2 separate regions of the Homo sapiens genome follow, and region 2 is linked to region 1. The links are contacts of gene promoters, found by promoter capture Hi-C in human tissues and cell types (Jung and others, 2019). All regions are on one chromosome and are shown on one strand. Each heading gives the region's core, a stretch centred on a gene start or on the middle of the fragment in contact. The rest is flanking DNA. Distances are from core to core; before and after follow the strand shown. Region 1 holds the start of INSL4 (insulin like 4). Region 2 overlaps INCR1 (interferon stimulated noncoding RNA 1).

What was found. The method cuts DNA at HindIII sites, captures the fragments that hold promoters and counts their contacts. A contact is called where the count stands out against the background at its distance.
Region 2: a fragment that was not itself captured here is called in contact with the fragment with the promoter of INSL4 in region 1 in 1 of the 25 tissues and cell types used here (small bowel).

What each region holds. Positions count from the first base shown.
Region 1 is chr9:5,227,795-5,235,694 of GRCh38, forward strand. INSL4 (insulin like 4) reads left to right here and starts at 3,625. Exons shown (of 2, transcript NM_002195.2): 1 at 3,625-3,925; 2 at 5,860-7,510. The coding sequence starts at 3,730. The coding sequence ends at 6,083. RefSeq lists a promoter at 2,902-3,719. The HindIII fragment of the contact is 9,700 bases long and covers 724-7,900 here.
Region 2 is chr9:5,584,204-5,592,103 of GRCh38, forward strand. All of the region lies in intron 1 of INCR1 (interferon stimulated noncoding RNA 1), which reads right to left. Among named protein-coding and RNA genes, the nearest start is that of RIC1, 41 kb to the right of the region's middle. RefSeq lists an enhancer at 5,700-5,889. The HindIII fragment of the contact is 5,555 bases long and covers 1,000-6,554 here.

The DNA.
Region 1 (7,900 bases), core at 2,375-4,874:
TAAACCACCATGGCACACATTTACCTATGTAATGAACCTGCACATCCTGCACATGTACCCCTGAACTTAAAGTTGAAAAAAAAAGGAATAGGAAATAAATAATAAAATGTGATTTAAAAACCCTTTTCACAAACTACAACACACATAGTATACAAAAGTTGATCATAAAGGTATACAATTTTGTGCATGAACATGTGTTACCAATATGTTCTCCCTGAAACTGTTGAATTCTTCTGCTCTTTTCTTGCCTTTTTTGGTGTGTGTGTGTGTGTGTGTGTGTGTGTGTGTGTGTGTGTGTGTGTGTGGCCTCCAGCTCCAGACTCTAGAGACAGTAATTGTAGTTTCAAATTAAGTATTCAGATAACTGGTAACAATTAATCAATCACCCATGGGAGTTCAAAGAAAGAAATTCATGGAAAGATACAATGTGATTTCTCCCAAGTATAAAAAAAACCTCCATGGGTGCTCTCCCAAGACTTAACAGTCAACCCTATAGGATGCCTGTGTTTCTCATCCTTCTCAGGATCAATGGAGGGCAGATGTAAGTACATACCTTTGAAGAAAGTTCCTTGTAAACTTCAAACATTGTTATACAAGCCTAAAGTGATGTTATTGGAATTTTAATAGTGTTCACAGGACCTGGTTTAAACATCACTAGTCGTCTTTCTCTAATGAACAACTGATCCATCCACTCATCAAAATACTATGGATAGATACACAAGACAATATAGAAATCAATACAATATATTTTAATGTTTGGAAGAAAAAATACAAATAAATACGGAGTAAGTTAGGAGAAATATTAAATGTGGGAGTTGAGTCAGGCTGGTGGGAAAAATTTAAAGATAGTTATAAGAAAAAGATGCAAACCTTCTTGGAAGGCTGGAGGTGTTGCATAAGCTCCAGTAATAGATCAGGCTGGAGGCAGCCTAATCCTTACCTTGAGTTAATAGCTTAGGGCACAGATACAAAGGAATGTATAGTAGTTTATCTAAATAGCTTGTTTACACATGTGGTCTTAAGACCAACCTTTGATCAACCGCAGGTGCATAATTGCTCTCTACTCGGGAGGGTGGCAATGTCTACACTCTATTGGGCTCATATCTTAGATCCACTTTTCTTTTGCCCTGTCACTTGGGTATACAACCCCTTCCCAGCCTTTAATAACGTGACTGCTTAGCTAGGAGGGATAGATTTACCCCCAGTGGGGTTCCTCAATAATGGCACACATTGGACTAAGGTGCCAGATAACACTACAGATCACTCTACTATCCTCCCATTGTGTGTAAATTATAAATGTTCTAACCCTTAGTGTGCACCTACTGAAACACAATTATGGCTACATCATGGCAAAAGAAGTGCCTTAACAGTCTTAGCTGCAGGTAGCCTCAAAACGGAAATCAAGTCTGCTTTCCCAAACATTCCTTCCTGTGCTAAAGAACAAAGCCGGAAAAATAACGGATTCCACTTTAGCTGGGAGATCTGTCATGGGGAATAAGCTCATAGCCTCCAGTTAGGCAATTATAACATCCTAGACTGGAGCCCCTGTGGCCATTTGTAGGGCAGCCTTACTGATATCCTCATCCATCATGGCATCGATCACAGTTTCATAGCCTCGTCCCATTCCCTTATGATTTGGGCCGATGGGAGGATAGGATATCCCAGACCCCGAGTAAAGTTGATGCCTCCCCAAGACACTTTATGTTGCCTGGGACATCTTAGCACCTCCCTTGACACCTGGCATGGGACATATCATAATTACAGTAACAACTATACTATAACCTTTATTCATAATCACACTGATCAGTCCCTAATTTGCAACTCCATCCATATGTTTTCCTTATGGGAACTAATATTTCTATTACAACCCAAAATTCCATGTTTGTGACCCGGGTGCAAGGACAGGCTTTGTTTGCCTCATGTACCACTAATTACAATATATCTAATTTAAATACTACTAGTGTCATGGTATTAAGGAGACAATCTGAGGCATTCCTACCCGTCAATTTGACACACTATTGGCAAGGTTCCTCTTCCTTTGCCACCTTAGAATGTGCCCTATCCCAGGTCAGACCCAAAAGATTTATAGGCACACTTATAACCTTTATAGTCTCAGCCATAGTCATCCTAGCAACTGCTAGTGTGGCTATAGCATCTACTACCGAATCAGTGCAAACAGCTGCTTTTGTAGACAATTTGGCCAGAAATGTGTCTAATGAACTTCTCTTACAGCAGGGTATAGATCAAGAGATTCTTGCACGTCTGCAAGCCCTCGAGGCTGCCTTGGAATTTGTGGGGGAGCGACAAGATGCCCTAGCATTCTGATAGCAATTAAACTGTGACTGGGAGCATAAACATATCTGTGTCACATTTTTACCTTGGAATCAATCAATACATAGTTGGGATGAGGTGAAACAACACCTCTGGGGAAACTTTCATGACAATTTAACAGCAGACGTAAAGCAACTTAAAACTAAAATTTTAGAATCCCTTCACATGATAGATCTACATACTCAACAAACAGCCATATGGAAAGGTGTGCAAGATCATTTCTCCTGGTTATACCCCCGATCCTGGGGGTCACACTTTGACTGGAAAGGAATGTTACTAATTATACTCATGATTGTCTTACGTTATTTGCTAATTCTATGATGCAAAGCCGGAATAAAAGCAAAACCTAACAAACCTGTTGCTGCACACATCTGTACTCTTAAGTCAACAGAACCCGATGCAAAGAACAGAAAGGGGGGAGATGTGAGAGTTCAGTCAGGCTGGTGGGAAAATTTTTTCAGATAGTTATAAGAAAAAGACGCAAACCTTTTTGAAACGCCGGAGGGGTTTGTATAAGCTCCAGTAATAGATCAGGCTGAAGGCAGCCTAATCCTTACCTTGAGTTAATAGCTTAAGGCACAGATACAAATGAATGTAGTTTATCTAGTTTGTTTACTCATGTGGTCCTAAGACTAATCTTTGATCAACCGCGGGTGCATAATTGCTCTCTACTCGGGAGGTTGGCAATGTCAATTACCTTCTAGTGGTGTTTACTCAAGACCTTCGTCATTTAATCTATGCTGAATAAATGTGAGCTTTGCTGGCTGATCGGGGCCACGGCTGCAACTCTTTACAGCACCCTCCTTGGTGTCTGTAGGTGGCCCGGACCCTCAGCTGGACTGACAGGCAAACTATCTGTGTCAGTGTATGTTATTCATCCGTCGTTGGGTCAGGGTCTGTGGGACAGACCCCCGCAATTAAAAGCTTATATGCCAAATGTTAACTAAGATAATTTCTAGCCAATGAGCTTACAGGTCAGTTCTATTTTTATTTCATCTAAGCAAAGGACATTAAAAATTACCATTATTTTAGTAAGCATAAAAATAGTATTACAGGAGGAAAGTTAAGAAAAAGAAGTAGAACAACCAAATTCAAAACAAGCAAAGTGCAGCAGCACATTGGGAGCAAAGAGGGATATGAGAGTGTGGGTAGGGCAAGTAGGGAGACTAAATAAGAACTGAGGGAGAAAGTTCCTTGTAGGTGGGTGGGAAAGGGGTGGAACTGACACCATTGACGCAAAAGCTGAGTAATAGCCCTAAGCAAATAAATGCCTGATGAAGGCATGCAGAAAGCAGTCTGGAGCCCAGAAGGGACACACCAGCACAGTCTGGTAGGCTACAGCAGCAAGTCTCTAAAGAAAGGCTGAGAACACCCAGAACAGGAGAGTTCAGGTCCAGGATGGCCAGCCTGTTCCGGTCCTATCTGCCAGCAATCTGGCTGCTGCTGAGCCAACTCCTTAGAGAAAGCCTAGCAGCAGAGCTGAGGGGATGTGGTCCCCGATTTGGAAAACACTTGCTGTCATATTGCCCCATGCCTGAGAAGACATTCACCACCACCCCAGGAGGGTGGCTGCTGGAATCTGGACGTCCCAAAGGTGAGAGCCCTGGACTACCAAACAATCAGAATGAGGCCTGAAAAAACAGGCTCCAGATCTCATTGACTGCCTGTAGTCAACTCAGACTCTACTGTGGCTAGTGCCTACAAGTTTGTGGTTTTTCATTGTAATGTGCTTTTATTAAAAGGGTCTCACCAGAAATCTCATGGGAAGTTGGGGGTAGAGGAGAAGCTGCAGGAAAAACAGAAGAACAGCCTCACCTTGGAGGCTCTTGGTGCCTTTCCCACCTGGCAGCCAGAGATACAGGGTGGAGAAAACAGGGAATCCTCAGAGAAGGTGACTATTCTCAAACACCAGCAGGAGGTGAGGTGTACTCCCAGACCCCCAGGAAAGCTGGGCAGGCCAGAAAACAGGTGTGATTGCAATGAGATGCCTGGGCCAGGCATCTTCAATTAAGAAGAAAGGGGACAAACAGTGAGGTGATGAGCTGATTATCATTTCTGTTTATGCACCTATTGGCCTAGGGGCAGCACACTGAGACCTCTGTTAGGTTCCTGGAATGTGAGATAAAGGGGGCTTAGATTTAATAACTCTCATCCTTTGTCATTAAGCTGGGCAGTGGTCTATGTCACCAAAAACGTCCTCTTACAAAAAAGTTTTTTTTAATGCACACCAACAGAGCACCTTGCCTCCCATTTCTTTGAATCTACTCTTGTAGTGTGTTGAGAGAGATGAGATGAAGAGAAAGAAAGTGGCCTGGATGACTAGAGGGGAAATTGAAGGGGACCAGAGACAAGGGAATTTCACTGTTCAGACCATCATAGCTGATTTGATTAGTGTTTTCAACATTTGAGACTGCAAAGCATTTTCTTTAAAAGCAAGATTTCAGAATTGAGGAAAGTTCAATACCAGGATAGTTTTCAAACTTTACCAAGTAACAAGGTATTCATAAAGATAAATTGCCAGCTAAGTTAAAACTAGCAGGGGCAGTTTCGAAAAGAGATAGAGGCTACTATATTCTGTCTAATAGGTCGTATTAAGTTCTGAAAAGCTAAGTTAAATTACTAAACATTGTTTTACATTTAATACAAATGACACAGGTTTTGAACCAGCAATGTGTGACTCCAGAACTGCTTCTTGTAACCCATATGCATACACTTCATTAAATCATTAAATGACTCTGTTTAAAGTTATCGTGCACAGTGAATGCACTTGGATTTTGTGTGATTTATATAACGATTTCAAAGTTATTTCCTTTTTTTACATTATTAGTCAGAGCTTGTTTCATTTTACTATAAAATAAGGGAAGAATACCACAAAGTCCAAACAATTTCTAATGCAAACTAAGGAAGAGCATGCTGTACTATAATTTCTATTTAAATTTCACTTTTTTTCAGTAAATAAGTGAAAATCCTCATTTAAATACTTTGACAAATATAGATAAATTTAACAAGAAAAATGGAAAGTATTCATGGATAACAAATGTTAACATTTGGTGTCGACACATATAGATGTATGTTGCTTCTCAGCCTTTTAGCTAAGATCCACTGATATAGATGTATAGATTTATGTGGATCAGATTTGAATATCTGAATCTTTCTATTAGAATAACTTGTGATTATAAAAAAAATTCCCTATTGCTATCCAGTACATAATGCATTGAGGTTATCAATCAAAACAGTGTCAGGGAGAGTCAAAAGTGGTATGGTATAGGCATTTAGAGGGTCATTAGAAGAGTGCATAGAGGGGACAGGATGAGGAGTTAGCATATCCTTAATATTGTAGTATCTTAAAGTGCCCTACTCTAAGTAAGCTAAGTTGTTGAAATGTTAGGATACTTGCTGATTCTCTCTGGTGTTTAATTACATGGAGGCAATGGGTACATTGTGGTCTAGGCAAATTGTATAATTTTTCTGATCCTCTTTCACATGAATGTTTTTCCTCACCTTTCATTCCTCTCTTTTACTTCACAGAAATGGTGTCAACCTCCAACAACAAAGATGGACAAGCCTTAGGTACGACATCAGAATTCATTCCTAATTTGTCACCAGAGCTGAAGAAACCACTGTCTGAAGGGCAGCCATCATTGAAGAAAATAATACTTTCCCGCAAAAAGAGAAGTGGACGTCACAGATTTGATCCATTCTGTTGTGAAGTAATTTGTGACGATGGAACTTCAGTTAAATTATGTACATAGTAGAGTAATCATGGACTGGACATCTCATCCATTCTCATATGTATTCTCAATGACAAATTCACTGATGCCCAATTAAATGATTGCTGTTTATTAGAACATGAGAATCATTATTAGTATTCACATGTTTCACTTGCTCTGTACTAATATAGTCTCTCCAAATGGAGGAAGTTAGATAGATGGAATAAGTTCTAGTAGTTGATAGTACAATGGGGAAATTATACTTAACAATAATTCACTGTATATTCCAAAATAGCTAGAAGAGAATTGTAATGATTCCAACACAAAAAAGATGAATGTTAGTTTGGATGCATATCCCAATTACCCTGATTTGATCATTACACATTATATACACGTATCAAAATATCACATGTACTACAAAAATGTGTATAACTGTAATATGTGAACTACAAACTTACTGGAAATAAATTTTTAAAGTTTTACACACATAAACACATACGTTCACACACACTCACTCAAGTCTCTTCATTTTTCCTCTTTTCACACTAGAAGAAATGTAAGAGATAAAGGATCTAACCATCTCTAACATCAGCTCATAGTACGGAGGAAAAGCAGTGAAGGAATGAACTGGTGGGAGAGGTATTAGGCATGTTCACCCTAGGGTAAACCCAGAGACCTCCCTAGAACTTTGCCCAATGCATATCCTCCACCTGCCTCTCAGCACGCTGCCTTTAGACCTTCAATCATTCTATAAACTCCTCTTTTGTCCCTGGCATTACTCCACATCCCCTCATCAAAGTGGTGAATTGGCACAAATACTGGCATTCCTCTGGCTACACATACCTCCTCCCTATGTGTCTCTAAATCCTAAATCAAAGAGTACATTTTATACTCTGTCAGTGAGGTTCTACTAGTTGTGTTTGTTTGTTTGCAGGCTAACTGAAGCTGCTACTACCTCATTATCAGGTCCTATAAACTTAATTCAAGTGGCATGATTTGAGTAGCCCCCTGTGCCTGCCCATAAAGTGCTCTGAATCTAGTGTGGGACATGGAGAAGCAAAGGATAATAAGTGCAATGATACTTGTAGGTCATCATAGAGACTGTAATGATCCACAGGAATCAGGGTCGTGTTTAATGCCAACATGTGAAAGAATAAATATACAGGGAACAGTGTAGGTAAGAGGAGAGAGCAAAATTTCCCTAAGGAAACTGATGGCTGATCTGCATCTTGAAAGACATCTAAGCAGAAGAGAGTGCAAAAAGGGACAAGTAGAAGCCCAGGAAAATGCACAAAGGCCTGGAAGCATAGCATGTGTGGAAACAGCCAGAGTCAGCAGGGCAGGAGGTGGTGTGGAGAAAAGGAATTGTCAAGATCTGGTTGGAATGGAGACAGGAGAGAGGATCTCAAACGATTCCACACAATGCAGCTATGGGGTTTAGGCTGCATCCTGGAGTAAGGAAGAACTGCTCATGATCTTGATACATCTCTCATAAAGAACTTTTTCCTACCAATACTCTATTGAAGATGAAGAGGGATCATGGGAGTCATAGGGCAGAACTCATAGATTATACTGTACAGTCTGAACTGTACCACCTGGTTTGCCTAGACTCCTCTAGATTGTTCTTTGAGAACAAAGGGGAGAAGCGCATAAGGTGTATTTCTTGACAGTAGTGTCGATCAATAAAATATCAATATTTTGGGTCTCTACGTTATTCATGATCAATGATTGAGTTTACTCTATGTGTCTATCAGTTTTCTAGGACTTTAGGATTCAGGAGAGAAAAAATAATAATTATGCTTTCATGGAGCTTCTACCTGGTTACTTGACTGACTCTGAACCTTCTCTTGGCACATGCA
Region 2 (7,900 bases), core at 2,527-5,026, 360 kb after region 1:
CCTAGCACTTTGGGAGGCTGAGGCAGGCAGATGGCTTGAGCTCAGGAGTTCAAGACCAGCCTGGGCAACATGGCAAAACCCTATCTCTACAAAAAATACAAAAATTACCCAGGTGTGATGGTGCACGCCTGCAGTCCCAGCTACTGGGGAGGCTGAGGTGGGAGGATCGACTGAGCCCAGGAGGTTGAGGCTGCAGTAAGTTGTGAATACACCACCACACTCTAGCCTAGGAAACAGAATGAGACCCTGTCTCAAAAAGAAAAAAAAAAAGTTACCAGTTTGGTAGCTTAGGGAGTTACAAGTTTGGTAGCTCATGGAGTTGCCATAGACATAGAATATATTGATTTTTAATCACAGCACACAACAAGATGTACATTTATATCCTTGTGAGTAAGTGAATATGGTTGAGAGAAGAGGTTAGGTTGACAAAGCAACTACTAAAAAATTGTCTTTTTCCCTCTGTCTTATGGGTAACTTGGATGAAAACATAGAAGATGAGCTTATAATATATGATGATTAATAAAGTAGGGAGAGAGAGTCAGTTGGATAGAAGAGTTTCTATTTCAAAATCCCAGGTTGCCACAGTGGCTCACACCTGTAATCTCAGCATTTTAGGAGGCCGAGGCGGGCAGATCACTTGAGGTCAGGAGTTCAATACCAGCCTGGGCAACATAGCAAAACTCCATCTCTACAAAAAATACAAAGATTAGCCAGGTGTGGTAGTGTGTGCCTGTGATCCCTGCTAATTGGGAGGCTGAGGTGGGAGGATCGCTTGAGCCCGGGAGGTTGAGGCTGCAGTGAGCCAAGATTGTACCACTGCACTCCAGCCTGTACAACAGCATGACGCCCTGCCTCAAAAAATAAAAATAAAAAATAAAAAAATTAAGTCCCAGGTTGAATCACGAGGTCAAAACCAAAGAGGTAGAATGAAAGGTCCTGCTTTTGATCCACACACCTAAGATGGAAGAGCAGTTTATTAGCAGTTAATATGAAAAAGTTCTGGGGATTTAATAGAAAAGAATTTAAACAGTATCATACTCATAAACTACAAATGTGCCCTAAGTACAAATGCAGGTTGAATTGAAATCCAATTGCTTAAAAACTAAGGAGGTTGGGCATGGTGGTTCATGCCTATAATCCCAGCCCATTAAGAGGCCAAGGCAGGTGGATCACTTGAGCCCAGGAGTTTGAGACCAGCCTGGGCAACATGGCGAAACTGCGTCTCTATAAAAAATACAAAAATTAGCTGGGCGTGATGGCGCACACTTGTAGTCCCGATACTAGGGAGGCTTAGGTAGGAGGATCACCTGAGCCCAAGGAGATCAAAGCTGCAATGGGCCATGACCTCACCACTGCACTCCAGCCTAGGCAACAAAGTGAGACCCTGTCTCAAAACAAAACAAAAACACTAAGGAGAACTTCAGCAGTGTTGACAGGACACTGTTCAGAACTGGGAACAAATAGTCCTATGGAACCTACTATGTCTAGGCCAGCCTACCTCTAGAATATTTTGTTCTATTCTGGGCCCGACTTGTTAATTGGGACATGAATAAATGAGAGTAGATCTAGAGGGAAGCACCCAAGATGGCAATCGGGCTTGAAGCCACCCCTAGACTAGGAATATTGGAAGAAGCTGGGCGCATTTCTCCTGGAGAAGAATTATCAAGGGAAGACATGAGAGCCAAGATCAATGGGTGCAAGTTACATTGAAGAAGAATTTGGCCCAGAAATGGAAAGAATTCACTAACAACTAGAGCTGTTCATCAAAGGTTAACCTCCTGGTTCCTGGATATATCTACATAGCCTGGAGCTACCATTTTTCAGGATACTCTGGAAAGTATTCTTCCCTTAGGTGATGAATTACAAATCTTCTTACTCTAAGATCCCATAATTCTTCAAACTAGACACTTAACTCCTATGAGCCTCAGTTTCCTGAGAAGACTAAAATGAAATGGCTTGTAAATCCCCTTCCAGCTCTAACTTTCTATGAAGTACTTGGTCCTAAAGGGTACCCTCGTTTATGTTTCACAGAGATACCAGAAACAGGAGTCTTTTATCTTCAACTTGACTCTCAAGATGTTATCCTCAAGTGAACTTTTTTCTACCAGCTGAAATATGTCCTTAAAATCTTTGAGTCAATGAATCATGAAATGAGCCAGGTTTTCAAATCTCATTTGTAGGGTTCCTTAAGAACTATGTCCACTTGCCACATTCTTTTCTGAATATTATTCTTTTTTTCTTCAACCCTGTTTTTTAACCCAAACATCCTGTTTTCAAACATCCTGTTTTCAACCCTCTTTGTATCTAAGGATGGAACAAGGCTGATGACACAGACAAGAAACTTGTAAAACATAGCAAGTATCTGCCTTTTATTTGGTGAATAATGTCAGGACTAGAGAAGGGCTGATGTGAAATTCTGGGCTGGGCTTTAAGGCTTTAAGGCATAGTTTTGCCTCAAAGAATTGCCTCCACACAGGACAAGTCACTGTAAGCAAAGTATGTGGCTGCATCTGGACATGACAGGAGGTGAGCTGGGAAGTCCCTGCCCTTTCCCTGCACATGCACTTACCCCATTTCTCCATCTTTCTACCTCAACACTTCACCTTCAGAGATAATTTCTTTCAGGCCTCAAAGCATTTTTAGACTTTAAGTTCTTTTGTTGCTGTTTATTAGCTCAACCAGGGCCATGTACCAGAACCTGGGGGAAAGGGCCATTTCTATGGAAATGGAGATAGGGTCCAGGCCTATCCTGAGAAAGTGCAATCATGAGGAGACCATCCTGTTCTTTCTCATGTATTTTATCATTCATTTGGTACTAAGCACTGTACTAGGCACCAAGATAGATAGTAAAACATCAGCCTTGTCTTCAAAGGGTTTGCAGATCACAGAAGCCCTCTCTCTCTCTCATCTTTTACATAGATGATATCCTATATAACAAGAAGAGATGTCACAGGATGACTAAAACAGGCAAAGCAGCTGGAATATGTGTGTGGCTGGGGCAGCCCATGACAGGGCCTTAACCCTAGTAATGACGCTGACAGCTTTAGTCACTGAGGGGAGTGGCCAGAACCTGCTGGTTTGGTCAATGGGGGACAACAATCAAGTAAGGGAAAAGTGATCTTATAAGGACTGGAGGGAAGTCAACAGAAAATCTCAGCCAAGTGCCATACATTTTTTTCTATAGAGTTCTATATTTTCTGGAACTCATATACAGAATTAAGTAAGAGTCACCCTGGGCTATATTGGTAAGGGCAAAGAGCTGGAATTTCTTACAACTTTATTTTGAAGCCTCAAGCAGCGGAAGGCAGATGGAAGAAGTAACATGTGGTGGTGGTTCTCAGAATTTTTACCACCCCCAAAACATGGAAGATAATTCCTCACTCTCCGGTCAGTAACAACCACTGACTTCTGCAAAGATTCACAGCCATTTGGGGTACATATCAGAATATCATGGAGAAGCAGGAAGTGGGGAGCAATTTCATAAAGCTTCCTACTTGAGTCTAATATAACCCTTTCCTACCTGCCCTGAGATCTATAGGTAGCTTGCCTGAGTTGAATCCAGCTCTGCCATTAACCAGCTGCATGACTACAGACAAGTCGTTCTCTTTGAACCTTAGTTTCCTCATACATAAAATAACGAACCTTACCTGGCAGTGTTATTGAGAGGAACTACAGAACCTATCACAGTTAGTATATAGCAATATAGCCAGATCTTTTTTTTTTTGTTTTTGAGACAGAGTCTCACTGTGTTGCCCAGGCTGGAGTGTAGTGGCACGCTCTTGGCTCACTGCAACCTCTACCTTGCAGGCTCAAGCGATTTTCTTGCCTCAGCCTCCCAAGTAGCTGGGATAAAGACACCCACCACCAAGCCCAGCTAATTTTTGTATTTTTAGTAGATATGGGGTTTCACAGTGTTGGCCAGGCTGGTCTCAAACTCTTGACCTCAAGTGATCCGCCTGTCTCGTCCTCCCAAAGTGCTCGGATTATAGGCATGAGCCACTGCGCCTAGCCCATAAAGCTAGATCTTAATGAGCAATTAGCTACTAGTACAATAATTTGTTTTAAAAGCTATATTATAGGATAACAGAGTCTACTCAGTCAGCCTTTATGCAAAAGTGAAAATCTTGGGATTCTCAGAAATATGCTCTCAACAGTAAATGCCCTATGTAACAAGGTGCACCAGCTTAGGCTGGGGCCATTGGGCCCATAAAATCTTCATTGTTAAAGTTAAGAAGTTGGGTACAAGGACAGAGAAAAGCTACTATTCCCAAGTTGCCAAATTAAAAAAATTACCTATCTGGAAGGTAAATTTTTTTTACCCCTTAACAGATCTTTAAGTGTATAATAGAAGGGAGATTCAAAATTTACATTTGAAACTGATTGTTTGAGGGGAAAAAATCTAAATAAAAATTTTAACAATCATATAAATATAAAGCCAAGATCTTAATCTGGAATGGGAAGGTTAAGACCATTCATTAATTCAACAAATATTTACTGAGCAGCCCTGAGACTGTTTTCCTTGGGGTCTGGGAAGGGGAGCCATGGTCAATGGACTCTTGTTATCTGTAGGAATATTGATCCCTACCACAAGGTAGAGGGACAGGGAATAAAGGGGAGATAGTCCTCCTATGAGATAAAGGTAGGGGATGTTCTACAGGGCCCAGTTTTATATTTTTCTTTTCTGCCTTGTTATTTCTTCTCATGATTTTCTTTCAGTAAAATCTCTTTCCCACATCTCTTTCAGTAAAATTTTGTTAAATGATAGTCTTGTTCTCTGTTTTGGGGAATTACAAGATGGACTCTTAATGGGGCTCTATTAGTAGATGGTAAGAATTCCTGGGAATTTCCAGAAATTCTTTGGGAAAAGTCAGAGACTAATCTTCTCACAGTTACATAAGGGGATGAAGCTGAAAGTTATTTGGGCATTAATTAGAAGTGTGGCCCACTGAAGGCTGGTGAAATCTGGACACCTCTGCTATACATGGTCCTTGTGGATGGTTTGAATGATATTCCCAAATTGGCTGGGCACATTCCCATGATATCAGGCCGATGGGCATTAAAAATGCAAATTAGTTCACATGCTGGGGTACAATGCCCTGAACCAGCTGACTTTAATGGACTGCAGATTGCCAATCCAAGGCTATGTTCTTTCATTCCTTTCCTTGCCTTACTTACTTATCATTCATCCTTCCCCTAAGTTCTCTTGGGCCTATTGCCCAAATAAAAGTGAAGAAGAAATTAACACATATGAAAGCGTGCTATGCTAAGTACCATGTGGGGTGTGTTTTGCATGAATTATTTTACTTAACCCCTTACAACACCTTGGCAAGATAGGCAGGATTATCCCCATTTTATTGATGAGAAATGAAAGCTGAGAGTCCTATCTCCCAAGTAACACAGCCAGGTATTATAACAGTCCTGGGGTCCACATACAGGCTTACATAACTCCAAAGTTCTTTACATCATACCACCAAGAAAAATGTATTTTAAGATTCACCTAATTAAAACATAATTAAGAAGAACAATGTATTGGGAGAGATGCTTACTGTTTCTAAGCAAACATACGTGATTGCCTATCAATGAACAATGACCTCAAGCTGTAACTCAAACCGGAGCTGCAGGGGGCTCAGATTCAAACACTTCCTCTCCACTTACAAAACTGCCACAAAGGAAAATGAAATGGTAAAAGGCAGTTTCTGCCAAATCTTGGCAAAACCAGCTAAACTTTCTTGGTCAGTGGGAGTAGAAGGGGTGATATCTCTCTGTCCTGAGGAATCAAAAAGTTGCCTACCAGGTTAATACATAATACAAATCTGACATTTCAAACACAAGTTGTTTTACATATCTGGGCTCAACAGTTTAAGTTTACAAAATATCCCCACCCATCCAAAATCATGTGTCCATATAAAGGCACATCTGTGGTCTACAGTTGGATAATTCACAGCCCTCTTATCTAGCACTGGTCATTAGAAATTAGGGCGGCTGTGTTACACAACCATGCAGATGGTGCCCCCTAGTGTTGCACAATGACAAAGCCCTGAAAGCAACCACCTGAAAGCACAATCTAGACGGGTGCTTCTCAAACGGACTGTGGTAAAAAATTGTTGTTACTTTGTTTTTTTCAACCTCCAATCCTTCACAGACCAATACTTTTAAAAGCTATAATAAAAATAATTTAGCAGAAAAATTAAATAAGTAAAGGTATTACAAATAGAAGACTTAATCTTTTTAACCATTAGATTCAATAGACTTAAAATTATTCTGTGAAATTGCTCTAAAGTTTCTACACTCAGTTCCTTTGCAGACCAGGAACAACAGTTTGTGGATGGGCACGAATGCACAGATCACGCTTTGACAAACACTATACTGCTTCACTTTTTTTCTTTCTTTTTTTTTTTTTTGAGACAAAGTCTCACTCTGTCGCCCAGGCTGGAGTGCAGTGGCGCGATCTTGGCTCATTGCAACCTCCGCCTCCCGGGTTCAAGCCATTCTCCTGCCTCAGCCTCCCAAGTAGCTGGAATTACAGGTTTGTGCCACCACTCCCAGCTAAATTTGTATATTTAGTAGAGACGGGGTTTCACCATGTTAGTCAGGCTGATCTCAAACTCCTGACTTCAGGTGATCCGCCCGCCTCGGCCTCCCAAAGTGCTGGGATTACAAGCATGAGCCACCACACCTGGCCCATTGCTTCACTTTCAGTTACAAAGACTTACCATGGGTTCCTTCTAAGGTACATTGAACCACTTGACCCTCAATGTGGTGTCCACCTATCAATTAACTACAAATTCTTTCTTTCCTCTTTTTTTTTTTTTTTTTTTAACTCAAGCAACCCACAGGCCGGTTTAAAGTGGTCTTTAATTACTGAAGACTTTCCCTTATTTAAAGAAATAGGGGAAACTTGGAGGTCTAGATTAGATTTCTTTCCAACGGTTGCTATGTAACTTTGTGACATTTGAAAGATTAAAGTTGCTTCTGACGGCACTACAGTAGAACCTCAATATTTGCATGTTTCTTCCTTAAATTTCCCCTTTCCCTGACACTGTACATACACTTTCTAAAATTTGTTTTTTAATTTTTACTTTTCACTTTTCAATTTTTAAGGAAATAGAGATGGGGTTTCACCATGTTGCCCAGGCTGGTCTCAAACTCCTGGGCTCAAGCGATCCACTCGCCCCAGCCTCCCAAAGTGCCTGGCCCCTGTAGGTACACTGTTAACAGAATCAGATACCAGTAGGAAAATGGTAAAAAGAGAATATGTAAGCAGAGATACCAATTTGTGGTAAGCATTCAAATTGGTTCTTATGTAGTCCTATTGTGGAATTTGATTTAAAAGCCAAAACAGACATCACTATATGTCCCCTTTATATCTTTCCTTCATCATCCTTGTTTTGTGGTAATATGCTTCTCTATCATCCATTGATAATAGAATTACAACATTATGGATTTTCTATGCTGATTTATCAGAAATAGATTGGGGTAATGGTGTTATTTCTCTTCTGTTTTCCCTCCCACAAAGTTTCCCTCTGTGCACCTCAAACTTACTCTTTAACCTAATCTTCTTTTGAGGGAAATTACTCAATGGTTTTTAGGGAATCAACTGAGCTCTGACCTCAGGGATCCACCAAAATCAGCCAGCCCTTCACTCAGTCAAGTTCAATAATTATTTTCCACAGGTGCTAAAACCCCAGTTGAACCTGGATATTTTCCCCCTTAATATCCCCTTTAGAGAAAAAGAATCAGAGAATCCCACATGTAGAGGAGTGAGCAGATAACAGAAACCCTGAAGCCTTCCAGATTTAACTGTTCCTGCTGTTCCAATGAGCCACCTGAGGCCACAGCGGGAGAAGATTTAACACAGGAAAGACAGTGGCTTTTACGGGCTTTGGAGAAGGGCCAGGGT